3 separate regions of the Homo sapiens genome follow, and regions 1 and 2 are each linked to region 3. The links are contacts of gene promoters, found by promoter capture Hi-C in blood cells and fetal thymus (Javierre and others, 2016). All regions are on one chromosome and are shown on one strand. Each heading gives the region's core, a stretch centred on a gene start or on the middle of the fragment in contact. The rest is flanking DNA. Distances are from core to core; before and after follow the strand shown.

Region 1 (4,179 bases), core at 247-2,746, 340 kb after region 3:
CCGATATTTCATTTGGCCTAATTGAAGTGGCCTATAGAAGTGAGTTGTAACTATATTATTGAGTCTGAGATCAAACATGGTTAAAGTAGCCCCATGTAGTTCCTGGCTCTCTCCGTATTTCTCTTTTAAATCCTGTACCATCCTGTGGCTTGTCTTCCCTCTTGGAAGTGGCACTGGAGTTTGGGTCTGAGGAGCCTAGACACTCGGAGGCAGCAGACTCACCGAGATCCAGCACCGTCCACATACTGTCCCAGTTGCTGAGACTCCGCCAGTGTTGCTGTCATCTTTCTTTACTGAAGTCGGTAAGAAAAGCCCTCAGCCTGCTGTCATATAGTGCTCCAGAGGGGCCACCTGAGAAGTCAATTTCACTCTCCTCCAACTGGAATCCAGTCTGCTTGATCAAAGGAAATGCTGTTTCGGTTTTTCTATTTTTGTTTTTTGGTGGGTTGGAGAAAAGGGGGCTTATTTATTTTGCTTTATTTCATATTAATCTTGATAATTCCTATGGCATCAAGAATAGTGTATTTCTATTGTTTATTTTGTTTTAGATTAACTGTTTAAGAAAAGAAAATGATATTTTGTTTAAAAAGAAGCCATTTGTGAATGCTCTGGTACTTCAGAATGTCATAAAGCTAATTTAGTTCTTGGGGTTTTCTGCTTTCAGGCAGTTTTGGGGTTTTGGGTTCCAGTTATAAAAACTCAGATAGTTATACAGACTGAAAAGTTGCCCCTACCTTGGATAGAGGCACATCCAAAATTAAGAGGAGTATTCTATTCATTTAAGGAGCTGTAATAATGTATTCTGATTATCAACATCTCAATTATATTCTAGCTTGGAAAAAATAGAATGATTATGTCATCTGCCTGGCAAGTCTTTAAAAAGTTCCATCATTTGGTTTATCTTTAATGTGGTGAAAAAACTTGCAAGATCACACTTTAATCAAGGTGTCTTGAGGAGTTACTGATGACAAATTACAAGATATTTTGCTCTGTGAAGTGGTAAACAATCAAAACATCATCAACAAGTAACAAGGTTTGCTCCCTTGACTCCCAGCTGCTCCTGTCCTTTTTTGTCTGTTCAGGCCCTGGATCCAATGGAACTGAAGGGTGAAGGTCTTGTCCTTTCCCTGGAAGAACAGCTCAGTGCTTTGACCTTGTCAGAACTCCGTGACTCAGAGCCATCTTCCACTGTTTCCCTTAACGGCACCTTCTTCAAGATGGAGCTTTTTGAAGGCATGCGAGAGAGCACCAAGGTACTTTTTGTCTCCTCTGTAGTAGTCGAGAGACTTCGATTCCTCACACATTTTCCTGTGTGACAGCACTTCATTTGTCCAAGTGGGAACAGCCATTTGCCAGCAGAGCTAGAGCCGTTAAATTCTAGCTGATCAGATTCTCCCTCCAGTCTTAAAGCTTCATTTATTTCACAGATAACACTAAAGCCTTACTACATAGGGGACTTTGAGAGAGTAATTTGGGACAACCCCAGCATTGCACTGAAGTGGGTTTTCTGTCATGGGTCACTGGGGAGCTTGCCAGGTTTGTGCTAGGGACGGGGCCTATGCAAGTGAGCAATTTGTTTAGAGAAAGCTTAAAAGGAAAACAAAGGCTTGACTCTAGAGACTGTGTCATACATGCGAGCGCCAATTGCTCTGACTTTGAAAGGCTTCCACATGTGAGTAGTGTTTCCTACATAGCCTTCTGTCTTCATTAGTCATTCTGCTCTGTTTTCGTCAGAGCTTTTTAAGGCAGAAACATTCTGCTGGAGGAAGGCTTAGATATGCCGTAACCTGAATCCTGCCTGTCTGCTGGCTCGGAATGTGCTTCATCATCCTGCCTGTCTTGAAAGTGAGGCTTGTTTCTCTCTTAGCATCTCAAGCTGCCGTTCTTGGGCTCAACCTCTCTTCAAAGGCTTTTTTTGAAAAAGTGTATTAATAACTAGAAAGGTCACTTCCAGGGGAATGGCATTATTTTTTAAAAGGAATGCTGCCTTTTAATTAAAATTTGAAAACATTTACCTAGGTCTTTACCACTGATAGCTGAGAGAAACATAAGAAGAGCATCCCATGTGGCCAGAACACACATGCTAGTGCCTTCAGAGTGAGCTATTGGGCTAAAATTTAAATTCCTAATCATTTGTGTTCCTTGTTTAATTAAATGCAGGTAATATTTATTCACAAGTTTTCTTAACATATGTCCATTAATAGTTCAAACCACATACGGTTGTTTCAAGTAGGGAAGGAGGCTTCTTACTGGAATTTGACCCCGGCTCGTGGGCCATAAATCCAGCCCTCCTGCTGCAGTTTTCTCAAAACACCATGGCTAGCTTTTTCATGTGGGAGTCACAGCGCCTTCCACAATCTCAAGTTGCCAAGACACCAGGCACATCAGTGTCTCTGTTCTATTGTTAACTAAATAACAGATGTAGCTGCTTTTCTGTCTGCTAATTTGAATGGTACAGTTCTGTGACTCACTTCCTGCCTAGGCACCAGAATGTTTGTTAAGATTGGAAAGCAGCCCCATGTGGTGACCACTGTAATGACATCCTAGAATGTGGGAGCTCAGGGCACCTCAGAATTTATCTGGCCTAAGTCCTTCTTTTCACTGATGAGGAATCTGAGTCCCAAAGTGGTCCAGCCATATGAGGACAGAGGAAGAACTTCTGTATATTTGTCTCCTGATTGACTTACAGCCCAGTTTTCTTCCTTCTCCAGCATTCTGGGGGTGAACTCTGGGGCCCTTAGAGGCTCTTGAAAGGTTTTTCACATGAGCAGCTGGGAAGAATGAGCCCAGCTGCACTCCAAAGTCATGCCCCACGTGTTCTTACTGACAGCTCCCCTGTGGACTCAAGTGCACCCTAAGGGTTCTTGGGGAATACCCAGGGAGCCTGTTCGGAAGCTTTAACAATGGTTCCTCCGTCTGGACAGGTCCTTTTCAACAACATTTGGAGCAGGCCATAAAGTGGGTAAAGCTCTTTCACTTTCTTCTTCAGCAAACATTAGGAGAGTATCTTCTCTGTTTTGGCCATGTGTGTACTCACAGCCCCTCACACATGGCCGAAACAGAGAAGTTACTTTCCTAATATTTGCCTCCTTGGAGTGTCTCAAGTCCTGGAAGCAAGAGATAATAAGCAATTAATATACAGTATGACAAGGACCGTGATAATAGAAACAAAAGGTGCTATGATAGTACTTGGGCAGTGGGCACCTAACCTGTACTTTGGGGGTTGGGAGGACCTCCAAGAAGAAGTGACATTAAGCTGACACAAAAGGGTGTTCTAGGCAGAGGGAGCAGAATGGACAAGATGGCCAGTGTGTGATTTATGGGAAGAATTTTGGTGTGCTTGCTGTGTCGTTTGAGGAGGGCATGGTGAGAAACGAACCCAGAGAAGCAGAGGCTGGAGCAGCAAGAATCCGGCAAGCTGCCTTGAGGAGCTTGGCCTTTATCCTCAGTGGGAAGCTATGGAAGGGCTTTAGCCAGAGGGGTGAAGTGACAAACTCACATTTTAGAAAGAGCTTTCTGGCTGCAGAGAGGAGGGTGGAATAAAGACAGGTGAGGCCAGAGCACAGACGCCATGTAGGAGGCTGCTTCGCATGGCAGGTGAGGGGAGATGGAGAAAAGTGAATTGCTTAAACATACAATGTTGATGTAACCTTTTCCCAGATTTCATCTCTGTTGGCAGAATTGGAGGCAATTCAAAGAAATTCAGCATCCCAAAAGAGGTAACTGCGTTTTCTCATTATCCAAGTATTGGTCATAATTATGTGAGAAAATTTGATATTGCCAAGAGTTATAAATCAAGGACTGTGAGTCATGCTCAGCAGAAAGCACTGAGGTTATAGCACACATTCCCTGTGATTTCTAATTAAAATATTTGTGGTACAAATTGAAAAGGAGATCCCTAGAGGATCAGGGTAAGCGAAGCATCTGAAAAAGTGTTTAAAAGTAGAGAAGCATATAAAGAAAAGCAAGCGAGTGAGGAGGCTCCAGCAGTGCTGATAACGTTCTTAAGCTGAGTACTTGGATACAAGGACTCATTTGTTATACCTGACATATGTGCTATACACCTGCATTATTTATAAAATAATTCAATATAAAAATTTAGAACTCGAATTAAGACAGCGTGGGGGCAGGGAGGAGCCTGTTGTTCTGGCTGGCACAAGAAGGGTGGTCAGTGTGTCC
Region 2 (4,435 bases), core at 1,731-4,230, 270 kb after region 3:
AACACTGCCCTGGTTTCAACTACCACCTTCTAGATGATAACTCTGAGATTTTGTGCTTAGCCCTGATCTCCTGAGCTCCAAGCCTTCATACCCAACTGCCTGCTGTACATTTCTACTTGGATGCCCCCATACTCAGCATGCCCTAAATTGCACTTAGCATCTCTGCCATCTCACCATGCTCATTTGCACTTCTGCATTTCCCATCTGTGTGATTGGCATTCTGTCTCCCAGTCATCCACACCAAACTCTTGACCACATGTGCATGGCCGTCTTCAGGAGGCAGCCACTGCTTAGCTCAAGTGCTTCCCATGTAGAAATGTGGGCTCCGTGTTGTCAGATCTTTTTGCATATCTAGAGATGCCTAAAATCTTTTTTGGTGACATCTCCCAGTTTGAGAATGTCCACAACTAATTCACTTCTTCTTTTTCTTTTTTTTTAGACGGAGTCTTGCTCTGTTGCTCAGGCTGGAGTCAGTGGTATGATCTTAGCTCACTGCAACCTCCTCCTCCTGGGTTCAAGCAATTCTCCTGCCTCAGCCTCCAGAGTAGCTGGGACTACAGGTGTGTGCCACCATGCCTGGCTAATTTTTGTAATTTTAGTAGAGACAGGGTTTTACCATGTTGCTCAGGCTGGTCTTGAACTCCTGACCTCAGGTGATCCACCTGCCTTGGCCTCCCAAAGTGCTGGGATTACAGGCGTGAGCCACTGCGCCCAGCCCAGTTCTCTTAAAATACTGCAAGTGTCAAGCAGAACATACCTGTGGGCTTGGTGTGGCTGTGGACTTCCGGTTGTGCACGTCATTTAGGGAACAAGTTAACCAAGAGGCCCCAGAAAGATGCTGAGAATGACTGGTCAGAGTTGTAAGGGGGATATTTTCTCTGAGGTTGGAAGAAAAGAAGTCAATTTCAAGGAGAAATTGGACTCCAGTAACAAAAACCACATAGAGGACAGAAAAGGACTAGAGGGTCCCTTGAACTGGGAAATTGGGCCCTGGCCAAGTAAAGTGATGGGATTGGAAGCCAGATCACAATAAAGTAGGAAGTAATTTGAGACAAGGAAACAGCAACAGTATTCCATGTGCTAATATTCCACGTGCTACTCCATGAAGGAAAGGGGAGAGTAAAAATGGTAACTAAGAAAGAGTCCAAGATCAGACAGAATTATTCTCTTAAAGACAGATTAATAAATGTGTTTGAGTCAGGCACAGTGGCTCATGCCTATAATCCCAGCACTTTGGGAGGCCAAGGTGGGCGGATCACCTGAGGTCAGGAGTTCGAGACCAGCCTGGCCAACATGGTGAAACCCTGTCTCTACTAAAAATAAAAAAGTTAGCCAGGCATGGTGGCCCATGCCTGTAATCCCAACTGCTCGGGAGGCTGAGGCAGGATAATCGCTTGAACCCGGGAGGCAGAGGTTGCGGTGAGCCAAGATTGTGCCACTGCACTCTAGCCTGGGCGACAGAGCGAGACTCCGTCTCAAAAAATAAATAAAATAAAAATAAATAAATAAATAAATAAATAAATAAATGTGTTTGTAGTGGAATTGAAAATGTAATGCACACTATAATTTCTTTATTTTGTTTGTAACTACTTTGGCTGTTATTCTAAATCCTCACCTGCTGGTTAGCAAGGGGAAAAAAAGTAAATGTCAAAATCTCTTTAAAACTCAGTCTAATCCAATCATCTAAATAGCTCCCATGGATGGCCTTCTAACACTTGCATCAAAATGTTCAGTCTCTTGGATGGCGTCCTCTCTCTCTGCGTTTACACCCAAGATAATATCTGGGTGTATGGGAGGAGAGTAATTTGCTAAGAATGAGGGGTACTGGTGGAATACATGGCTTGAGGGAGCTGCTAAAAGTTGTGAATGACCACTTTGGGAAGTAGAGGAGGAGTGAATCAAGGGTAAGTAAAAGCAGCAGGCAGAGGGCCCTGCAGAAGCTGTGTAGTTTTCAATGGCAGGGTCCAGCAGGCAAGCAGTTGGGCTAAAGAAGGAAAGAGGCTGGTTTGATTCCTAGCAGAGAATGTCCTGGCAAATGTGAGAGAAAAACAGGGACCAAGGACAAGAATTAAAATGAATGTGGCTGGACGTGGTGGCTCATGCCTGTAATCCCAACACTTTGGGAGGCTGAGGTGGGCAGATCACTTGAAGCCAGGAGCTCAAGAGCAATCTGGCCAACATGGTGAAACCCCGTCTCTACTAAAAATACAAAAATCAGCTGGGCATGGTGGCACACGCCTGTAATCCCAGCCACTTGGGAGGCTGAGGCAGGAGAATTGCTTGAACCCAGGAGGCAGTGGTTGCAGTGAGCTGAGATCATGCCACTGCACTCTGGCCTGGGTGACAGAGCAAGACTCTGTCTCAAAAAATAAAAATAATAAAAAAAATAAAATGAATGCACTGATGTCTAAAGAATATAAGATCTTCCCAGTGAGAACTAGATTTTTCAGAGGTGGTATCCAAATCTGAAAGTCTGCATTCTCTAATTTACTGCCATTTTATTTTCTAGGAAGTAAGGTACGTGTCTCCAAAGTGTACTGGACCGAAAATGTGACTGAGCACAGAGAAGTGGCCATCCGCTGCAGCCTGGAGAGTGTAGGCAGCTCAGCCACTCTGTACTCTGTGATGTGGTACTGGAACAGAGAAAACTCTGGAAGTAAATTGCTGGTGCACTTGCAACATGATGGCTTGCTGGAGTATGGGGAAGAGGGGCTCAGGAGGCACCTGCACTGTTACCGTTCATCCTCTACAGACTTTGTCCTGAAGCTTCATCAGGTGGAGATGGAGGATGCAGGAATGTACTGGTGTAGGGTGGCAGAGTGGCAGCTCCATGGACACCCAAGCAAGTGGATTAATCAAGCATCCGATGAGTCACAGCGGATGGTGCTCACGGTGCTGCCTTCAGGTAACCAGGGGTTTATCTACCGCGAGCTCATGGTCAGGAGAATACATGGCTCTCCTCTTATCCTCTCCCTCTCACCTATCTTTTGCTCCTTCTGAAGACAATTTTCAGACTGAAGACAATTTTCAGGTTCCCTAAAGAAGATGACTTTGCTGTCTCTCTCAATAGTAACTCATTTGAACAAACAAGGTCCACATGAGATTTTGGCATAGACACTTAAATATCGGGAGCATCTGACAGGTCCATGTCTTTCTGCTGGGGTTCAGGGAGAAGGTGGGAGGTGAGCAATAAGCTAAGCTTACTGAGGGAAAGGGCCATTGGAGAAGTAGGGGTGTGGTCTTGGTGCCAGACACCAGGAAGCACAAAGGGAAAATCATCAATAAAGGTAACAATCCTAAGAGACCAGCTAGCTTTAGTGACACTGCTTAGGAGGGACAGAATGCTGTTGAGAACATATGGGAACATCTAAGAAGTAGGGATAGGTGCATCCCAGCGCAGCAGGGCTTCCAGAGGGGAAGTCGAAGCTATCCGATTTGTTCCTTGAGGTGGTCCATCATTGTTTTTCCCTGTTCATTCCTCAGCAGAAGTTTTCTCCTGAGTGCCAGGCCAAAATGTTTTTTCTATCAGCCTTTTTCTTCTTTCCAACAATTACAGGAAGTCCCATACTCATGAGCACATTCCGTACATGTTTTCCCAGTGGAATTAATAGGCTCTGTAGAATCGGCAGTTTTTGCAGTAGAATAAATAGATAAGAACTGTAAAAAGTATACAGTCTGTGATGAAAAGCGTATCTTCTCTGAGGCAGATGGGATCCTTCATAGCATACATATTGTTAATCTTTGTGAGATCCTTGTAAAACAGGTATACGGTTTTTAAAAGATAAACCTGGAAAGAAAACATTAAAAATTGAGTGGCCTTCGTATTCTTCAGAAAACCTTTGTCATGACAAACTGAGGGTTTTGAGGGTAATTAATGTTGAGGATTTCCAAGGAAATCCCTGTAATGTACCTTCTGGGCTCCTCCACCTGGCTGTTCCTTCCTGGTAGTCAGGGAGGCAGTGTGGGGTGATAAAAAATCCCAGGGGCTGGAATCTGACCAGCCTAGGCTCAAATCACAGCTCTACTACCAATACCAGCTATGAAATCATACGCTGGTTACTTGCTGTGAGCCTCAGCTTTCTATAAAATGAAGATCACAATATAAATATGTATAAAGTATCCAGTACAGTGCTTGGCACATTGTCAGTGCTCAGCAAATGTAATCTCCTTTTCCCCTTATGCCTCCAAACCCGCTGCACATACATATACACACAGGTACACACATACCTACATGTGTACATCTATGTGACAAAATAATGACACTTGTTTAATAAATAACTATATCAGGTTCTGAGGCCACAAAAGTGTACATGACAGAGTCTGTTCCCACCGAGCTTGGAATCCAGTGGGAGAAATCAAGTCCAACATAACAGGTGTCATCAAAGAAGTATTTCCAGTAGACTAGGGGAACAACAGAGGCAGGGCTGGGGTGAAG
Region 3 (3,910 bases), core at 495-2,994:
CTGCAAGCTGATCATTTATATCATTTGCCCATTTTAAAAACTACTTTGTATTGATTGGTAAGAATTATTGGTAAGAATATTTTGAATATTAATAATTTTATATATATTGCAAATATTTTGTCACGCCTTTTCATTTTGTTCCTTATTTCTTCATCTGCATGTAAATCTTACTTCTTTATATCATCAGTTGTGTTCATCTTTTCTTTCTTACTTTGGATTATATGTTATATGTAGCCAGGCCTTCCATACTCAAACTATAGGAATATCTTTCTATATTGTCCTTTTAGCATTATTGTTATTATTTTATTTATTTAGTTATTTATTTTGAGACAGAGTCTCACTCTGCTCCCCAGGCTGGAGTGCAGTGGCACAATCCTGGCTCACTGCAACCTCCGCTTCCCAGATTCAAGCAATTTGCCTGCCTCAGCCTCCTGAGTAGCTGGGATTACAGGCGCACATCACCACACCTGGCTAATTTTTGTATTTTTAGTAGAGATGGGTTTCACCATGTTGGCCAGGCTGGTCTTGAACTCCTGACCTCAGGTGAGGAGGTCCGCCTCGACCTCCCAGAGTGCTGGGATTATAGCTGTGATCCACCACCCCCGGCCTCCTTTTAGCATTATTATAGTATTTTTGCATTTAAAACTTTAATCCAACTGTAGTTCATTATTGTGGATGACGCTCATACAACCATGAGGTAAATATTTGGCTTTCTTTTACCCAGTAACAGCAAACAACTGCTTTGACTTAATTTCATTTCCTTGGCAACTTTCTGACAGATAATATCCATATTTGTACTTAAAGTTGAAAAAGAAAACGAGCACCACTTTTGCAATTTTTACTCACTGTGACCTAAAGAATTATAACCCTGAAAATGTGCTTTGGAAGTCTGTCATGGTTATTTCTCTTTTTAGGCATCTTTTCAGGGCACACCCGTCTCTGCATCACTGTCTGTTTCCTTGTGTCACAAATTTCTGTTCTTTTTTTCTCTCCCTGTTCCCTCTCATTTATTTTTTCTCCTAATCTCTCCTTTTTCTTAACCACCTATAATGTTAATCACTTTAAATGCTTTTGACTCCTTTGTTTTGGTAGTTTAATTATATTTCATAGTCTCTATGCTTCTTTGTTTTGGAATAAGTTTTTATTTATCTAACTGTGAATTTCACTAGAGTTGTAAAATGTATGCCGAACATAGGATTTGGGGATTGCAAGCATTTACAGCTGATATTCAATTTCTTTCTTTTCACCACAAAAACGATTTTAGAACATGAAAAATATCTTTGGAGAAACAAAAAAATCAATTTCCTCATCATTTTATGGGTCTACATTTTTCAATATAATCATATGGGATAAATGTTTGCATTCTGCTATTGGCTTGTGAACATTTACCTATATTTCTATGTGGTCTTGTTAGGGACAGTATACCTAAGTGGATAAAAGGCTGTGTGGTTGAATTTGGCTTCTTGTTTACAAAAGAGTGATCCTTAGTGATCTACTTAGCCTCTCTGTTCCTTTTCTCTTTCACTGAGATGAGAAAACCTATCCTTCCCAATTTTTTTGTGTGAGAATTAAAATGCAGCAAGAAAACACACACTCATAAACACATCTGCTTTGGCAAAGGAGCACATCAGAAGGGCTGGCTTGTGCGCGCTCTTGCTCTCTGTGTATGTGTATTATGTTTTATGTTACTGTAAAAGATGTAAAGAGAGGCACGTGGTTAAGCTCTCGGGGTGTGGACTCCACCAGTCTCACTTCAGTTCCTTTTGCATGAAGAGCTCAGAATCAAAAGAGGAAACCAACCCCTAAGATGAGCTTTCCATGTAAATTTGTAGCCAGCTTCCTTCTGATTTTCAATGTTTCTTCCAAAGGTAAGCATAAGAGTCAAAGAAGTCCCAACCCAGCTTTCCCTGAAAGTGACTCTCAGTAACTCTTTTGCTTTTTATAGGTGCAGTCTCCAAAGAGATTACGAATGCCTTGGAAACCTGGGGTGCCTTGGGTCAGGACATCAACTTGGACATTCCTAGTTTTCAAATGAGTGATGATATTGACGATATAAAATGGGAAAAAACTTCAGACAAGAAAAAGATTGCACAATTCAGAAAAGAGAAAGAGACTTTCAAGGAAAAAGATACATATAAGCTATTTAAAAATGGAACTCTGAAAATTAAGCATCTGAAGACCGATGATCAGGATATCTACAAGGTATCAATATATGATACAAAAGGAAAAAATGTGTTGGAAAAAATATTTGATTTGAAGATTCAAGGTAAGTGTTCATTCCCTTAATTGCTTTATTTCAGTGTGGGTGCTATTTGGCAAGTTGGAAAATAGCATTTCTAATATTCCCCAGCGCTGACCTCTGCCTCCAGGGGGGCTATACAGGAAACCAGATGCATGTCTCCTGCCCCAGTGGAGACTGTGGTCCAATGCGGGAATGGGATCCACACATCTGATAGACCCTCAAGTCTACCTGCCTACAACTCTGTCTTCAGGTGGTTACAGGAATGTGGGGTTGGGTGAAGAACCTGGATTAAGGTGGCATTAATCGGGAGGGGGACACAGGTAGGCCGAGGGAAAAGGCAACTGTTCCAGGTTGCTGATGAATCGGCGAGCTAAGAGTGGGGCGAGAAGAAGAGGCTGACTGGAGAGCAGCGGGCCTTTCATCGACAGAGCCCATTTCAAGCCAGGCTGCCCTGAAGGAGGAGTTATATGGCAGAAAAGGGCTGGAAACAACATATTTAAGGATGAACAGCCCTTATTTTGGATCTGCTTGTCAGAGTGATACAAGGTGGCAGGTGATTTTTGCTGATATGTGTAGAAGATGCACAAGGTGTGGCTTTGTATATCTCTGCCTGTACTGGGAGGACAGGAGTGGATATTGAGGATGGGGTTAGGGAGACTAGTTAGAAAGCTGCTGCTGTAATCCAAGTGGAGTGAGGACCAATTAAATCAGATTTTTTTTGCATGCGGCCTGGGTATCATTAGGTTCTAAAGCTCCCTGGGGGATTCTAATGAGCTGCCAAAGTCAATCGCCACTGGCCTAGACCAAAGGGTGCCTCTAAAATAGGAAGAATGAGGATAATAAGGGTCAGGCATAGAGAAAGGTGGCTTAGGCAAGGGAGAGAAGGTAGAGAAAGTGGAATCGAAATGCCATTGAAGTTGAAAGCCCGGGGGGATGCTGGGGAAGTAGTGACAAGAAGGGAAAAGAAGAAGCTGCGCTTGACTTGGGGAGGCAGACAGGAACCCCAGCATGAGCACAGGCCAGCCATTCAGTGAGCAAATAAGCATTTCTGTGCTTCACACAGAAAATATCACCAGAAGCAGGGACCCCACCTTCTTCCTCTCTGTCTCCAGCCCCATCTTCAGCACCTGGGCCTACCAGCAATCCCAGATAGTGTCAGATTGCCCACTCCAGCAATCCCAGACACTGTCAGCTCCCCTGAAGTGACAACTTTCCACACCCTAGTCCTGCAACCTTGAGTGGAGAGCACCTTGTAGAAATGTAGTGGGGTTGAGCATGGCGCTGAAAAGGGCCTCTGATTATGGGCTCTGGAAACCACAGATCTCAGGACTCCAAACAGCACAAAACTCGAGTGTCCTGTTTTGAGTGTGAGCCCTACGCGGGGGACCATGCTGGTGTTTTCACATTTGGGTCGCATTTAGCATTGCGGCGGAAATAATGGCTACCAGTTAGGGGTCAAGTGCTTGCTTACATGATCTTATTTAAAGCGCCCAACAATACTGAGACCTAGTTGTTATTATCTCCTTGTTATATATAAGAAAACAGAGACCTAGTCAGAAGCAGCTTGTCCAAGGTCTCATTGCTTGACAGGAGCAAAGTCAGGATTCAAACTCAGAGGTCTTTTTGGCAAGAATGACGACCTTTTCTTTTTTTTTCCAAGCAGCTTCA

The links. The method cuts DNA at HindIII sites, captures the fragments that hold promoters and counts their contacts. A CHiCAGO score of 5 or more calls a contact.
Region 1: a contact is called between a fragment that was not itself captured here and the fragment with the promoter of CD2 in region 3, in 3 of 17 cell types (naive CD8 T cells, fetal thymus and naive CD4 T cells). The highest score is 6.7, in naive CD8 T cells.
Region 2: a contact is called between a fragment that was not itself captured here and the fragment with the promoter of CD2 in region 3, in 12 of 17 cell types (naive CD8 T cells, naive CD4 T cells, non-activated CD4 T cells and 9 more). The highest score is 10.1, in naive CD8 T cells.

What each region holds. Positions count from the first base shown.
Region 1 is chr1:117,091,649-117,095,827 of GRCh38, forward strand. TTF2 (transcription termination factor 2) reads left to right here. Exons shown (of 23, transcript NM_003594.4): 17 at 169-302; 18 at 1,083-1,253; 19 at 3,661-3,719. It overlaps MIR942 (microRNA 942), which reads left to right and starts at 2,995; the gene lies at 2,995-3,080. The HindIII fragment of the contact is 177 bases long and covers 1,409-1,585 here.
Region 2 is chr1:117,023,000-117,027,434 of GRCh38, forward strand. CD101 (CD101 molecule) reads left to right here. Exons shown (of 10, transcript NM_001256106.3): 8 at 2,510-2,905. It overlaps CD101-AS1 (CD101 antisense RNA 1), which reads right to left. Exons shown (of 4, transcript NR_110786.1): 4 at 2,483-3,787. Among named protein-coding and RNA genes, the nearest start is that of CD101, 23 kb to the left of the region's middle. The HindIII fragment of the contact is 433 bases long and covers 2,765-3,197 here.
Region 3 is chr1:116,752,686-116,756,595 of GRCh38, forward strand. CD2 (CD2 molecule) reads left to right here and starts at 1,745. Exons shown (of 5, transcript NM_001767.5): 1 at 1,745-1,868; 2 at 1,946-2,266. The coding sequence starts at 1,808. RefSeq lists promoters at 1-1,862, 1,420-1,862, a silencer at 1-498 and a cis regulatory region at 332-361. The HindIII fragment of the contact is 7,255 bases long and covers 1-3,910 here.